2 separate regions of the Homo sapiens genome follow, and region 2 is linked to region 1. Evidence: promoter capture Hi-C in human tissues and cell types (Jung and others, 2019). All regions are on one chromosome and are shown on one strand. The core of a region is centred on a gene start or on the middle of the fragment in contact, and the rest is flanking DNA. Distances in the headings are between cores, read along the strand shown.

The links. The method cuts DNA at HindIII sites, captures the fragments that hold promoters and counts their contacts. A contact is called where the count stands out against the background at its distance.
Region 2: a fragment that was not itself captured here is called in contact with the fragment with the promoter of RFESD in region 1 in 1 of the 25 tissues and cell types used here (lymphoblastoid cells).

The regions. Positions count from the first base shown.
Region 1 is chr5:95,644,658-95,651,525 of GRCh38, forward strand. RFESD (Rieske Fe-S domain containing) reads left to right here and starts at 2,120. Exons shown (of 6, transcript NM_001131066.2): 1 at 2,120-2,160. The HindIII fragment of the contact is 8,810 bases long and covers 1-6,427 here.
Region 2 is chr5:96,443,571-96,449,807 of GRCh38, forward strand. All of the region lies in intron 4 of LOC101929710 (a long non-coding RNA gene), which reads left to right. It also overlaps a transcript of CAST not described here and the pseudogene LOC102724070. Among named protein-coding and RNA genes, the nearest start is that of PCSK1, 13 kb to the left of the region's middle. The HindIII fragment of the contact is 3,815 bases long and covers 94-3,908 here.

The DNA.
Region 1 (6,868 bases), core at 870-3,369:
AACAGTAGAAATTATGAACTTTATTCTGAACAATAATGACTTCCAAATAGACTGGATGGGTTCTTGCTGTTACCTAATGTGCATGCCTGTGTGTGAATGGTTTTGTGCATTTGTGTGTGTGTGCACTTGGGAAGTGGAGAAGGGTAGTTTATTCTGACCTCCATTATAGCTTTCCAAACATCACATGACTAACCATATGAATACTTTTGGTAGAGATAAAAGAAAGTTTCTCTTCTTTCATCCTACTTGTGTGTATATGCATGTATAACTACTGAGGTCTTCAGTTTATTCAATATCAAATTTAAGGTCGATGGATCTAAGATGTGTCCTTTTTTAATGCCCAGAATATGACAAAGCAAAAAAGGATTTCTAAAATGGCAAACCTTATTTAATCCTTCGATGACAAGCTGGGGACTACTAACACCTTCCATGTGCCAATAAAATCATTTGGGATGACTAACAGATAATGGAAATTACAATAAATCAAAATATATTTTATATCTTTGATAACTGATACATCAAAACTAGATAGTTAATTTGTGTTTGGGTCAGTGAAAAAAATGGCCAAAAGGGAAATGACCCAATAAAATATTATTGATCACCATAAAACTGTATTGAAGAGAAAAAAAACAGAAGAAACTAGCACTGGAAACAAATTATTCTGAGCTATTCAACTTCTTACATGTTGAGGCTCATTTAAAAAATGGCATTTATATAGCACACTGAGGTAAATGGACAAAGTTCCTGGGTTTCGGCTGCCCCAGTTCATTGGGCCACCCTAGAGCCTGAGATCACTATGTCACCATACTAAATACAAGTTGTAGTGTTCAACCTTGGGTTCACACTGGAATCACTCAGGAAGTTAAAAACATACATTGAATCTGCCCACTCCCTTCCCACCCCAAATAATCTGTGTTTTATTTTGTTGGTCTGGCATACAGACTGGGCATTACGACTTTTCAAAACTCCCAAGCGACTCTAAGGCATAGCCAGGGTTAAGAATCACTGCACTGGAAAGTAGTCAAGGAAATTAAAAACTTAGGCTCATCTAGTTTCCCAGCTCGGAACACAAATATGAGGGTTTTGGTGGTTTTCTTTGTTGTTGTTGTTGTCAATTCAGGGAAGTACAATGAGAAAAAAGCAAAATTGCAAAGTTCATAATATGAAAGTGAAAACTCTCCATCTCCTCCCAAAGCAACCACTATTGTTTCTTTTGATTTTTCGAGAAAAAGTTTATGTACATACCTGCATGTTTGTATTTCAAAAAATAATTGTTTACATTAAAGAGAGGACACCATATATAGTATTCTACGCTTTGCCTTTAATATTCATTACATGATGGGCCTGTCCTTTGAGTATACAGTACACAGCTACGAAGTAATTCACATGTCTGTACTGTTGTGCTGTGTTTTATTGAACCATTCCTCCGTGTTATCACTTCAGCTATTTTCACTACTTCACAGCAATAAACATTTTTTTTTTTTTTGAGATGGAGTTTCGCTCGTGTTGTCCAGGCTGGAGTGCAACGGCGCGATCTCGGCTCACCGCAACCTCTGCCTCCTGGATTCAAAGCGATTCTCCTGCCTCAGCCTCCTGAGTACCTGCGATTACAGGCCTGGGCCACCACGCCCGGCTAATTTTGTATTTTTAGTAGAGATGGGGTTTCTCCATGTTGGTCAGGCTGGTCTCAAACTCCCGACCTCAGGTGATTCGCCCGCCTCGGCCTCCCAAAGTACTGGGATTACAGGCGTGAACCACCGCGCCCGGCCTTAACATCCTTATACATGGGTTACCAGCATCGCGACGACCTTCTGCAAATATTTTTATAGGGTAAATAACTGAATGAAGTCGCTGGGCGCATCTAAAATTTGAATAAATGTAATGAGATCAACAAACAACTAAAAAGTAAACTGATGCTATCCACATTTGTCAAGTACACGAGTATGCCTGCCAGTTTGAAGGTGCTGGCGCGGCGCTGTTGGCCAGAGATCTCTATCAACCAGGGTCATCTGCCGGCAATGCCATAGAGGCGGTCCCGGGGGCGGGCCTTCTTGGGTCACGTGGACGGCCTCGCCCCGCCCCCGTCGAGGCGCCGCGCACGTCTGGAGCTCTGGCTCGTGCAGTAGCGTCACGCGGAGGCGGAGCGAGGACTCGGGGACAGTAAGTTCTGTTCTCGCCGCGCAGGGGGCGGGCTGGCGGGACCAGCTGCTTCCGGCTGGGCTGCGGGCGTGGACTCCTCATTCCGGCTGTGGCCGCGCCGCTGCGGGGCCTGAGGCCCTCTTGGGTTTTGGTTCAGCGTTAGTTAACGGTTAACCCGCCAAGGCGGGCTTCCGCCCAGGCACAGGAGACTCACCGAGCTTGTTCACCTTGAAACTTGGGCCACACCTGAGACCTGCCACCTAAGGGGGGTACGCGGGTCGTTTTTAACAAGCTTTCATGGCATTTGTGCCATGAAAGCTCTAAAGTATAGAAGCTGCTCCAGGGCTTCCGCAGCCCCGGCCGTCCTGGAGATACTCGCCTCCTGGAGTCTGTGTCGAGAATTTGCAGCACCTGGACAGCCACGTGCAGTCTCAGAACTGCAGGCGGTCTTTACCGAAATGTTAAACACAACTTGAAGTTAGGCAGGATAACTGCCAGAGCTGGATGGACCTTAGAGGTGCCAGCTAACGCGCTGTGAGCGTTTTCTGCGGTTAGGCCTGCTCTAAACATTTGACATGTGTTAAAGCATTTATGTGCTTTACCCACACCCCTATGTGGCGGGCCCTTCTTAAAGTAAAAGAAACTGCAGCACAGCGAAGTTAAGCAACTTGCCCCAAATCACGCAGAACTGGGATGCAAACCCAGGTCTAGCTCACTCGTGATCACAATTCAACATCATACGATGGTGCTGATTTCCAGAGCAGCTCTGTGACTTTATATAAAATTATTGGGCAAGCGTTCAATTGTAAACATTCGTGAACATAGCTGTTGCACATTAGCGTTCCTTTTTTTTTTTAATTCAGGACCATCTTTGGTGACAAATATAAATATCAATACTATATATATCACCAATATACATATTTGCTTTGCTAAAAGGTTTCTGTGTCTTCAGGATAGTTTACTTGCAAGCCTCATGTTTTTATAAAAACGTGGGTGCTACCTGAATAAAACTAATGCCTACCCGTTGGCGGTTTTGTGAAGACTAATGAACTATTATATTCAAAGGGTCCAAGCAGTAGGCATTTACTAAAGGACAGCTAGTTTTATCTGTTATTATTCTGCCATTCAGAGAGATACCAAAACTACTCTCTAAGGCATTTCTCTTCCCTGCATGTAAAAGCAAGGGTGTCATACTTGAGATAAGCATTCTGATAATGTGTAGGCAAAGTTTCCACACTTGGTAAAAGCATCTTAGTCATGGTTCAAGACGAGTGACAAGTAAGTACGTTTCACTTCATGTTTCTTTTATCTCCCGTGTCTTGTGGAAATTTGAGTTACACTAAATATTTTTTTAAATTCCACTTGAATTTATTTCCTTTGTTGGAAAGGAATCTAATAGTGACCGAGTATCCATTTAGCTAATTTGTAATTTTATATGGAGTTAGCACCTTTAGAAACCAATTTTAGGGACAGGCCAAAAATTTTTCTCGAAGAGAACATGAAACACAACGACTAAGTTTTTCAGGGGGATGTTTTCAACTAGCCGTCAAACTGTATGAGTTGTTTAATTTTCTGTTTCATTCAGTTAAGATTCTATTATCTTAAAGTAGACTTAAAATCGAAACATATTGGGAGTTTATGAATAGTTCATCAAAATAACGATAATTAAGGTGAACACGTGGGCTTTCCCTATTGTGTGAATGGATCATGATATTCACAATAGTAAGAATAATATGGGTGTTAAATGTAAAAAGTCCTCAAATAGTATAAATAGTACCATTTAAGATACATAGAGGAAACTATTATTTGACATATAAAATTATACTTTTCTAAGCAAAATGCACAGCCATAATCATAGTTCTCTGAAACCTTTATCATTTAGCCCCAGTCTTCTCTGCTCCTTTTTTATCAGTCCCGTAAAAGTTCACCAGTTTGTCGGGTTGGAGGCAAACCTTGCAAAAACTGTAAGTTTGTAGTGACTCAAATTTGAGAAAGACCTGTATTTGGTTCTCATTTATTTGGGAGTTGGGAAAACATAATTAACTTTTGATATTATACTACATCTCTTGTATTTCGTTACTTTTTGATAGTAGTGCTTTTTTTTTTTTTTTTTTTTTTGGCCTGGAGGAAAACAACTATTCATTTATTTCCTCCTTTGGTGCCAAGTTTTGAAATTAGCTGTACAAAATTCTCAAATAGTTAATTCATGACCTATGCACAGGCACATTCTCTGAGGATAGAAAGGGCAATTTTGTTCCATTTTTCTTGGGTTTGGGGTCATTTGCTACATAAATATACATTAGGATACAACTTAAATCTTGAAAAGAATAATTTTAATTATAAGAAAAAAGTAAATACTTTTAGACATTTAAGAAATGTTTATTATCCCCTTGCTTTTCTTGATATATTTACCCTATAGTACATATATCCATGAATAATATACTGTTTGGTTTTGCCACTTTTGTGATAAAAACGGAAACATACTCTGAATTCCTTTTTAAATTTTTCACTTGCAATTATGTTTTTTGAAATTAAGCCAACTTGATGTAGAGATACATTTTTCACTGCTGTACAGCATTCCATTGAATGAACATACACATTTTCCATTCTACTGTTGATGGGTTTTGTGTTGTTTTTGTTTTTTGCTGTTATAACTATTCTTGTGTATGTTTCCTGGTGTACCTGTGTGCATTTCTGTGGCATATACCCAAAGTGGGATTATTATTATGTTTAACTTTACTAGGTAATGCCAAATTGTGGTAGCACTAATTTATGTTATCACTAGCAGTTCCATATTTTCACTAATACTTGGTATAATTTTTTGTCAGCCTGGTGGATAGAAAATAGTATCACATTAATGGCCTTGCTTTGCATTTCCTTTGCGTTTTCCTACTAATGAGATTGAGTGTCTTTACATATACTGGCCATTCAGATTTCTTTATTTGTGAAATGTTTGTTCATGTCTTGCCCATTTTTCTATGATTATTTGTTCTTTTTTTACTGGCCTATAGGAGTTCTTCACATATTCTGAATCTCAAGAGTTTGTCAGTTATATGTATTGCAAATTCCACATTTCTTTCTTTTCTTTTTCTTTAGCCTATTTCCCCTTATTTCAGTTCATTCCTTTGTCTGTTCCCATTTTTCTTATTACCCCTCTGTTCTGTCACAAAATGTGATGAAGGCTGCATGCCCAACTCTGAAGGCAAATACTACCACCTGATCAATTTGTGTTCTTTGAGTACCTGCCAAAATCAAATAAAACCAGATGACCATTCAGAGATAGTATTCTTGCCTCCTATCAGCCATAGCTAACCCAGAAAATCATGGCCATGGTCCTCTTTGCCTTTGCTTTAAAATAATAAACTTTTGCTTTTTTATTGTGAGATAATTTTTAAAAACAGCATATGTATTACTTTTCTATCCCCCCCTTTAAAAAAAAATTAGAGCAGAATTAAAAATGCAAACTTCAGAGTACAAATTTGACATCCCTATAATTTTCTAAGTTTGATGTGTGTAATGCCTTCTTTTATACATTGAATTCAAAGCCCCTGTCTCTCCCCATCAACACACATGCACACATGCACAAACATGAACACACATATCTCTCTACCTACACCTCAATTTTGGAGCCCAGCCTTACAATGATATCTGATATCTGTCTTCCACATGGCTCAGAACTATTTATCTCAAAATAGTGACCTATAAATTCTCTTTTTCTAAAGCTCACTCCTAACACACTAACAGAGATTTTACTCTTAATAATTTTTGTTTTATAAACTTACTTTTTAAATGAACCATGCTCTTTTTCTGCTAACATTTTAAAACTTCCAATCAGTTATATGGGATTAAATAAATATTTAGAGAAGCCATCAGGAAAATTATCTGCAGAAGTCCTAAAGTCACTTGGCACTTCCATGAAAACAATTTCCCTTTTTTGGGGAAGCGACTGGCCCATAGTGTGTAACCATTCTAAGCTAGGTACACCGAGGTACAAATGCCTTCTTTAAAGAAGTTGGATAGGGCCGGGCATGGTGGCTCACGCCTGTAATCCCAGCACATTGGGAGGCCGAGGCGGGCGGATCATGAGGTCAGGAGATCGAGACCATTCTGGCTAACATGGTGAAACCCCATCTCTACTAAAAATACAAAAAATTATCCGGGTGTGGTGGCGGGCGCCTGTAGTCCCAGCTACTTGGGAAGCTGAGGCAGGAGAATGACATGAACCCAGGAGGTGGAGCTTGCAGTGAGCCCAGATGGAGCCACTGCACTCCAGCCTGGGCTACAGAGTGAGACTCCGTCTCAAAAAAAAAAAAAAAAAAAAAAAGAAGTGGGATATATGTGTTTTTATGTAAAATGGTAACCTAAGACTTGAGTGGAATTACAATGCAGATTCCTTTTGATCAAGGAAAGGTACATTATCATGTTGCTTAACTCCTGTGAAATGCTACAGTATTACTATATTTGAAGAAGGTGTGGATGATGAAATATCTTCCTAAAGTTAGAATATTTATTTGAAGTTGACAACTGATTTGTAATTTTGTTAAATATTTGTAGACAAGTGTGTGTTTAATATCTTGAGCATTCCACAGCAAACTTTTTTTAAAAAAATATTTTTAGAGACAGGGTCTCACTCTGTTGCCCAGGCTGGAGTACAGTGGTATGATCATAGCTCACTGAAGCCTCAAACTCCTGGGCTCAAGTGATCCTCCTCCCTCAGCCTCCCAGGCAG
Region 2 (6,237 bases), core at 751-3,250, 800 kb after region 1:
GAATTTAAAAAGTATAAATAGGCATTGAAGTAACTTTATCAGTGGTTATCGATTATTGCTGCACTTAGTATCTTGAAAACAACACTGATGCCCTGGCCCTAAGCCCACAGATTGTGATTTAATTGGTGTGGCATGGGTCACACCAGGTGATTCTATTGGGCATCATTGATATACATGAATCAAATTTATTTAACAATTGCCTACGCTCTATATCCTTCTGCAAGTCACGGACAGAGATTAACCCTAGAAGTAAAACGAAGCAGAGAATTTTAAGAATACTTTAGTCTCAACTACATGCATATTTTAGGGAAAGTGAAATATTAATCTAGCATTTCTTCTTAACTATCTCAATTCTCTATTTCATGTTGCTAGGGTATACTTGATCTTGTCAAAATTTTTCCAGCATCTAATAACACATAGAACCTCAAGGGCATTCCAAATGAATCACAGCAATATAAGAAATGAAGGAAAAAGCAAATTAAGTTTGGTCAACAATTTCTTTTGGTTGAATCAGAGGTGTCACAGAAGCAGCCACAGGGATTGAGAGTCCACCCCACCTTGCCCCTTATGGAGCTTGTAAAGACTAACTGGACTGACTCACATAAAGGGGCATTCTTTGCACTAGTCTGTGAGTCTAGGTTATGCCTTCACTTCTCATCAAAAATAGGGGCATTGAGATCATGACTTGCTAATAAGCCTCATGTAACAGATTTTTCACTGTATTGGTGATGGAAGTAAGACTCATTTAATTTAGTGTTTGAGAACTTGCTACCTGCCTTGATGTTCTGACACTTAAAGTTTTACTGTTTTCTATGTTTTGATGTTTAAAGAACTGTATAAATTGAATTATTCTCTCATTTTATCTCAAGCTGTACAATCTGCTGGTTTCTGTAATTTTAAATATCCTCTTTCCTTCAAATATTACCACCAAATCATTGTCTATAACAGATAAAAATTATTCTTTATCTTATTTACTTTTTTCTTTATGCCAAAATTTCTGAAAATTTTTTCTCAACTAGAATTATTTTCTCCATCATATTGTTAATTTCTAAAATATCAGTTTTATTTTATAAATGTTCCTTTTAATTTCTTCCTGTTCTTCTCTCATGGTTATAATATCTTCTCATGTCTGAGAATATTAATGCTAGGGGGTTTTATTTGTTTGCTTGTTTTGTTTTATTTATTTTTTTATTTTTTGCTTTTTTTCCTGCAAAAATAAGGTGACCACTATGGTGTTTTTTCCCCTATGGTTCAGTCCCTTTTCTCATGGTAAAGACATTCCTCCAATTTCCAGTTATCCATGTTGCTAGATCACAGTTGAGAGCGAGAAAAGAAAATCCGTAATCATTTAAATGGGAACTGGCAACTGTGAGTTTTGCTGCAGGATGGCCTGGCCAGATAGAAGAGTTGAGAAAACCTCAATGCCAGAGTCTTTAAGTCTTTCCTCTTGGGTTAGTTGGATTCCAGAGAGAAGACTCCCTGACCTGCAATCTTCAGCAAAAAGGGCCAGCCACCAGAGGAAAAGGACAAGAACCCTGAGGACTGCACTCACTGTGCCTCACTTAGTTCCGTGTTTCAGTGTGAAGCCTCCACACTTAACTGTGCCTGGTGTCTCTGGGGAAAACACCTTCAGTCTCTTTGCTGGGTGACAAAGGGATGGTTTTCTGGCAATAAAAAGTGATGAGAGAAGCTGGGGAAGATTGCTTCTGAGGTACACACACCATGGTGGTGTGTACCTGTGGTCCCAGCTACTACGCAGGCTGAGGTGGGAGGATGGCATTAAGGCCAGGAGTTCAAGGCAGTAGTGAGCTATGAAAGAAAGAAAAAGAAAGGCTTTATGTAGCAACTTTATCTTCTTGCTCTGCAGAAAAGAACTGGACTCATTGCCCAGACACATAATGGTTCCCTTTTGAATGTATTCTAGACCTCCATGGGCAGTCATCTGAAATGGTTCCTGTTTTTCTAACTTTACCTCTCTTTTCCTCTTCATACAGTTTCTTCATAGATTTTAAAAAATCTTTTCTCTTCTCCCAGTGTTCCACTCTTCTATTTTGGGAGCATGCCACGGCTCACTCTGGAATTCTTAAGTTCCCAGTCAGGTCTTGTCCTGTAAATTTCCTCAGTCTTGTGCATTTTCTGCAGATCACTGGCATTCTTTTTTCTGCTGTTTTTGATGCTGGGTTCTGAACAAAAAGAAGCCCAATGTCCATCCCATGGTACGTGTGAATCTGGGTAAACCCGGGGGTAATGGAGGTGAAGTGTTCTACTTAGAACTGCAAAATAATCTTTTTCTTTTGAGGCAGGGTCTTACTCTGGCACCCAGGCTGGAGTGCAGTGGCAGATCTGGGCTCACTGCAGCCTCGACCTCCAGGACTCAAGCAATCCTCACACTTCAGCCTGCTGAGTAGCTGGGATCATAGGCATGTGCCACCACTCCTGGCTAATTTTGTTTATTTTTTGTAGAGACGGAGTCTCCCTATGTTACCCAGGCTGTTCTCAAACTCCTCAGCTCAAGCTCAGACTTCCAAATGATATAGTGACTCTCTTTAAAGTGCTGCGATTACAGGCATCAGCCACCATGCACAGCTCCAAAATAATTTTTAGTGTACAAAAAAAAAAAAAAAATCACAGAACTCCGTAGATTACCTTTCTGAGACAACCCCTCATTTGGTCTACATAAGAATCCTATATTCTTATTGTTAATATAACTTGACTTTATTGTGGTACAAGAACTATTTTTTCATAACCATGTATTACATTGCAAACCGCTCTACCATTAACATGGCTTTAAGGGATATCATGGCCAATTGTGTCTCTGTAATTTTGGGGCTTTTTTCTGTGTTTGCAGAAAGGAGGGACTGGACAGCCCCATCACTCATATGTTTGTGGCAGGATGAAATTTTGAGATATTAACCAGGGTTCCCCAAGCTCCTTTCCTACTCAGTCAGCAGCAGGAATTGCTTCAGAGAGGATGCAGGGTTTTAAACCAAGAACACAAAAGGAAAATAAGCAGTCGGTGCTCAGCTTTTGCATCTCTAAAAATAAAATTTAAATCTCACTGTGGAGATGGAAATCTATAAAGTCAAGGTCATTGATATTCAAGATCCAGTTTCTTTTGAGCAGCAAGAAGCCCAGCCCAAAGGAAGTCAGGCATAAGGTTTGTGCCATAAGCAATGGAATGGAAAGAGAATAGATGAAGAGTCAGGCTGCCGTATCCTAGAGACTGGATAAATGTTGCCTGGGCTAGAAAAAAAGAGTTACCTTGAAGAAAAAGCATCTGTGGAATATGAGCATGCCACCTCAGTTTCTGTCCTCATCAGACCAACATCTAGAGAAGAAAGAGGGTTACTGAGCTTCCTGTCGTTTGGGGGATTTGGGAGGAAAGGTAGGATCCTAAGTACTCAACAAACAGAAAATCACAAGCACTGGCCAATTAGAAGAGATGCCCAATTAATCCAAATGATCATTCTGGTGCATGTTGGTTAAATTACGGACCTGGAGAGGGCATGAATGCCTGGCTCCCATCGGAGAATTCAGTGTGGCAGCACTCTTGGATAGGTGCTGCACAGCATGGTGGCAAAGGAGGAATTAAGCAAAATGAGCCCAGGCGTAAGAAGCCATGAGACACAGCTTTGAGTTTCTCTCAGACTTGCAAGTGATACAGTGACAGCTGAAAGCATGCAGGCCCTAGGGGCCTTGGATGTGGCTGAGAGAGCACCAGTGGACTTGAGGAAGCTTAAACCCATGTTAGGACCTCAGGCAGTGGCAGAAGTCATGGGCATAAGGACCAATTTCCAGAGACTAGGAAGTTAAATAGCAGCTGATGCCAGCAGAAGGCACAGAATAGCCACCGACTACATATACCCAGCACACACAAGTGTGCACACACACTCATCCACATACACACCCATCCACACACTCACACACATCCACACACGTGCCTGCATGAGCCCTCTGTGGAATTTAAATGTTACTCACGGGCAGAAAATAGACAAGGGCAGAACCTTAAAATTGCCTGAGTTTAAAATGAAAATGACTGAGGAATAATTTGACTGGGTTTACTTGGGAACACTTGGTCAAAGCTTCTGATTTTAGAAGGAAATATGAGTTACAATAAAAATTACATTTATTTATAGGAAAGTAAAGTATATGTTACCCCTTGGATGCCTACTCAAGCATGTGGGAGTTGTGTGTGTGTAAAATATATCACATATATTTTTAATATATGTGATATCAGCTGAGGTGCCCTGTCAGTGACATTCTAATTAAATTGGCTCTAATGCTGTCCACTGTGTGTTGAAACCCCATGTCCGCTCTGATCTTTATGGAAAACATAAAACAAGAAGTAAAAACCTGCCCTGCTAGAACAGCTCTGTCCTACATCAGTGATTTTCAAACATTTTGAGTGCTGGAGACATCATTCTGGATGGAACTCTCATATGTTAAAAAAAAAAAAAAGATAAAACCAGGGCCATTCTGGCTGTGCAGAGATGAGGGACAAGAATCAGCTCAGGGCATCTGTCTGGAATATTTTTATGCAACTGAAATGCCCTTACAAAGAAAGGCATTTTGAAAGCTACTGCTCATTGCTATCCTAGGTGAATTCCAGAAAGCGTATTAACATGTCTGGGGGCTATAAATCTTAAAGCCTTAGGTTTGACTCCAAATGGAACAGGAAATCTATGCATAAAATATTTCTAATTATGTCCCTTGAGGTTTTGAGGCTAAGTGTTTGTGATGCTAGATTTAAAGGATAAGTGAAAGCAAGTGACCAAATGTTTTGCTCTGGCATTTGAAGACCATCCTGTCAGCTATCCAAAAAGCAACTTGCTATATTTCATTCATTCATTCATTCATTCATTCACTCAACAAATGTATATCGCGCTTTTATCAAGTACTAGGCACTGTGCTAGCTGCAATGGAAACAGTTTCCGTGCCCCCTATTGACTGTTATAGCTTTACATGAATTCTTTGAACTATAATGTTTCTGCTGCTTTCTGCCTTTTCAGAACAGAACAAATTGAATGTTTGAATGTATTTCTGTTAGTGTGCAAACTCTTGAAGCTCTTGGTGGGTTTAGTCACTTTCAGGAAGATCAATACAGACACTCTAAATATCTAGAGTATGCCCAGGTTTACCATATTCACATAAGGGAGGAGTCTGGGCTAGTATACTGGACCATAAACATCATATCACTGATCAAAAAATGTAGTCAAGCAGAGCTCTTCAAAGGCATTTCTATTTGCTGCCTAACTGGATCATATGCCATTTAAAAAATGCAACCATTCCCCAGACCTAAACTCCCTGGATAAATTGTGAAGAAAAATAGTATCTTTAAAAATACTTAGTGCTTTATTTATTTAGTTTATACACCTAGTTAGATCAATTACTTCTGCTAGGCTTATTATGAAAAACAACAATTCTCTGCCCTCCCCAGCCTGCCCCATATCCAGCTTCTCCAAGACAATCATCCCACTTTCATAGCTTTCAGCATTTTGCCTCCATATCTCTAAATAATATCATTTTCCTTTTTCTTGATTGTTTTAGTTTTAGGCATTATGTAGTCTAAAAGCCCCTCTCTGCTTAACCACCAATGCAGTCTTGCCATCCACAGTAACTTCTGCCCCTTCATAGTTGTATCACAATTCTGTATAGACACATACTCAGTGTTCACATCAGGGGTTCCCAACCCTAAGGCCATGGAACAGTAAAGGTCCGTGACCTGTTAGGAACCAGGTGAGCTGCCAGTAAGGTGAGGTGCCAGTAAGCAACCATGCCCACCTGAGCTCCGCCTCCTACTGCACATGCGAGGAATCTGGGTTTCATGCTCTTATGAGAATCTAATGTCTGATGATCTGAGATGGAAAAATTTCATTCTGAAACCATCCCCCAACCCTGCACACCATCCATGGAAAAATTGTCTTCCATGAAATCAGTCCCTGGTGCCAAAAATATTGGGAACCGCTGGTTTACATGATTAGGCTATGTAAAGCCTATTCACTCCTGAGGTATATAATTGACTATGATTGCTTTTTTCTTCTTAAATACTTTGCCATGTGTATTTTTGCTTAGTTTTCTATGTATTTCTCACCAATTCAACCCTAAATTCTCAGCCATTTGTCCAATCTTCTCTCACTATGTTCAAATGCGTTATGTAATCCATCAATGCCATCTTCCTGGGAACATTTTCCACAGCCTGCTGGCCTCCTGGACTGTTTGGACAGGACTCTCTTTATG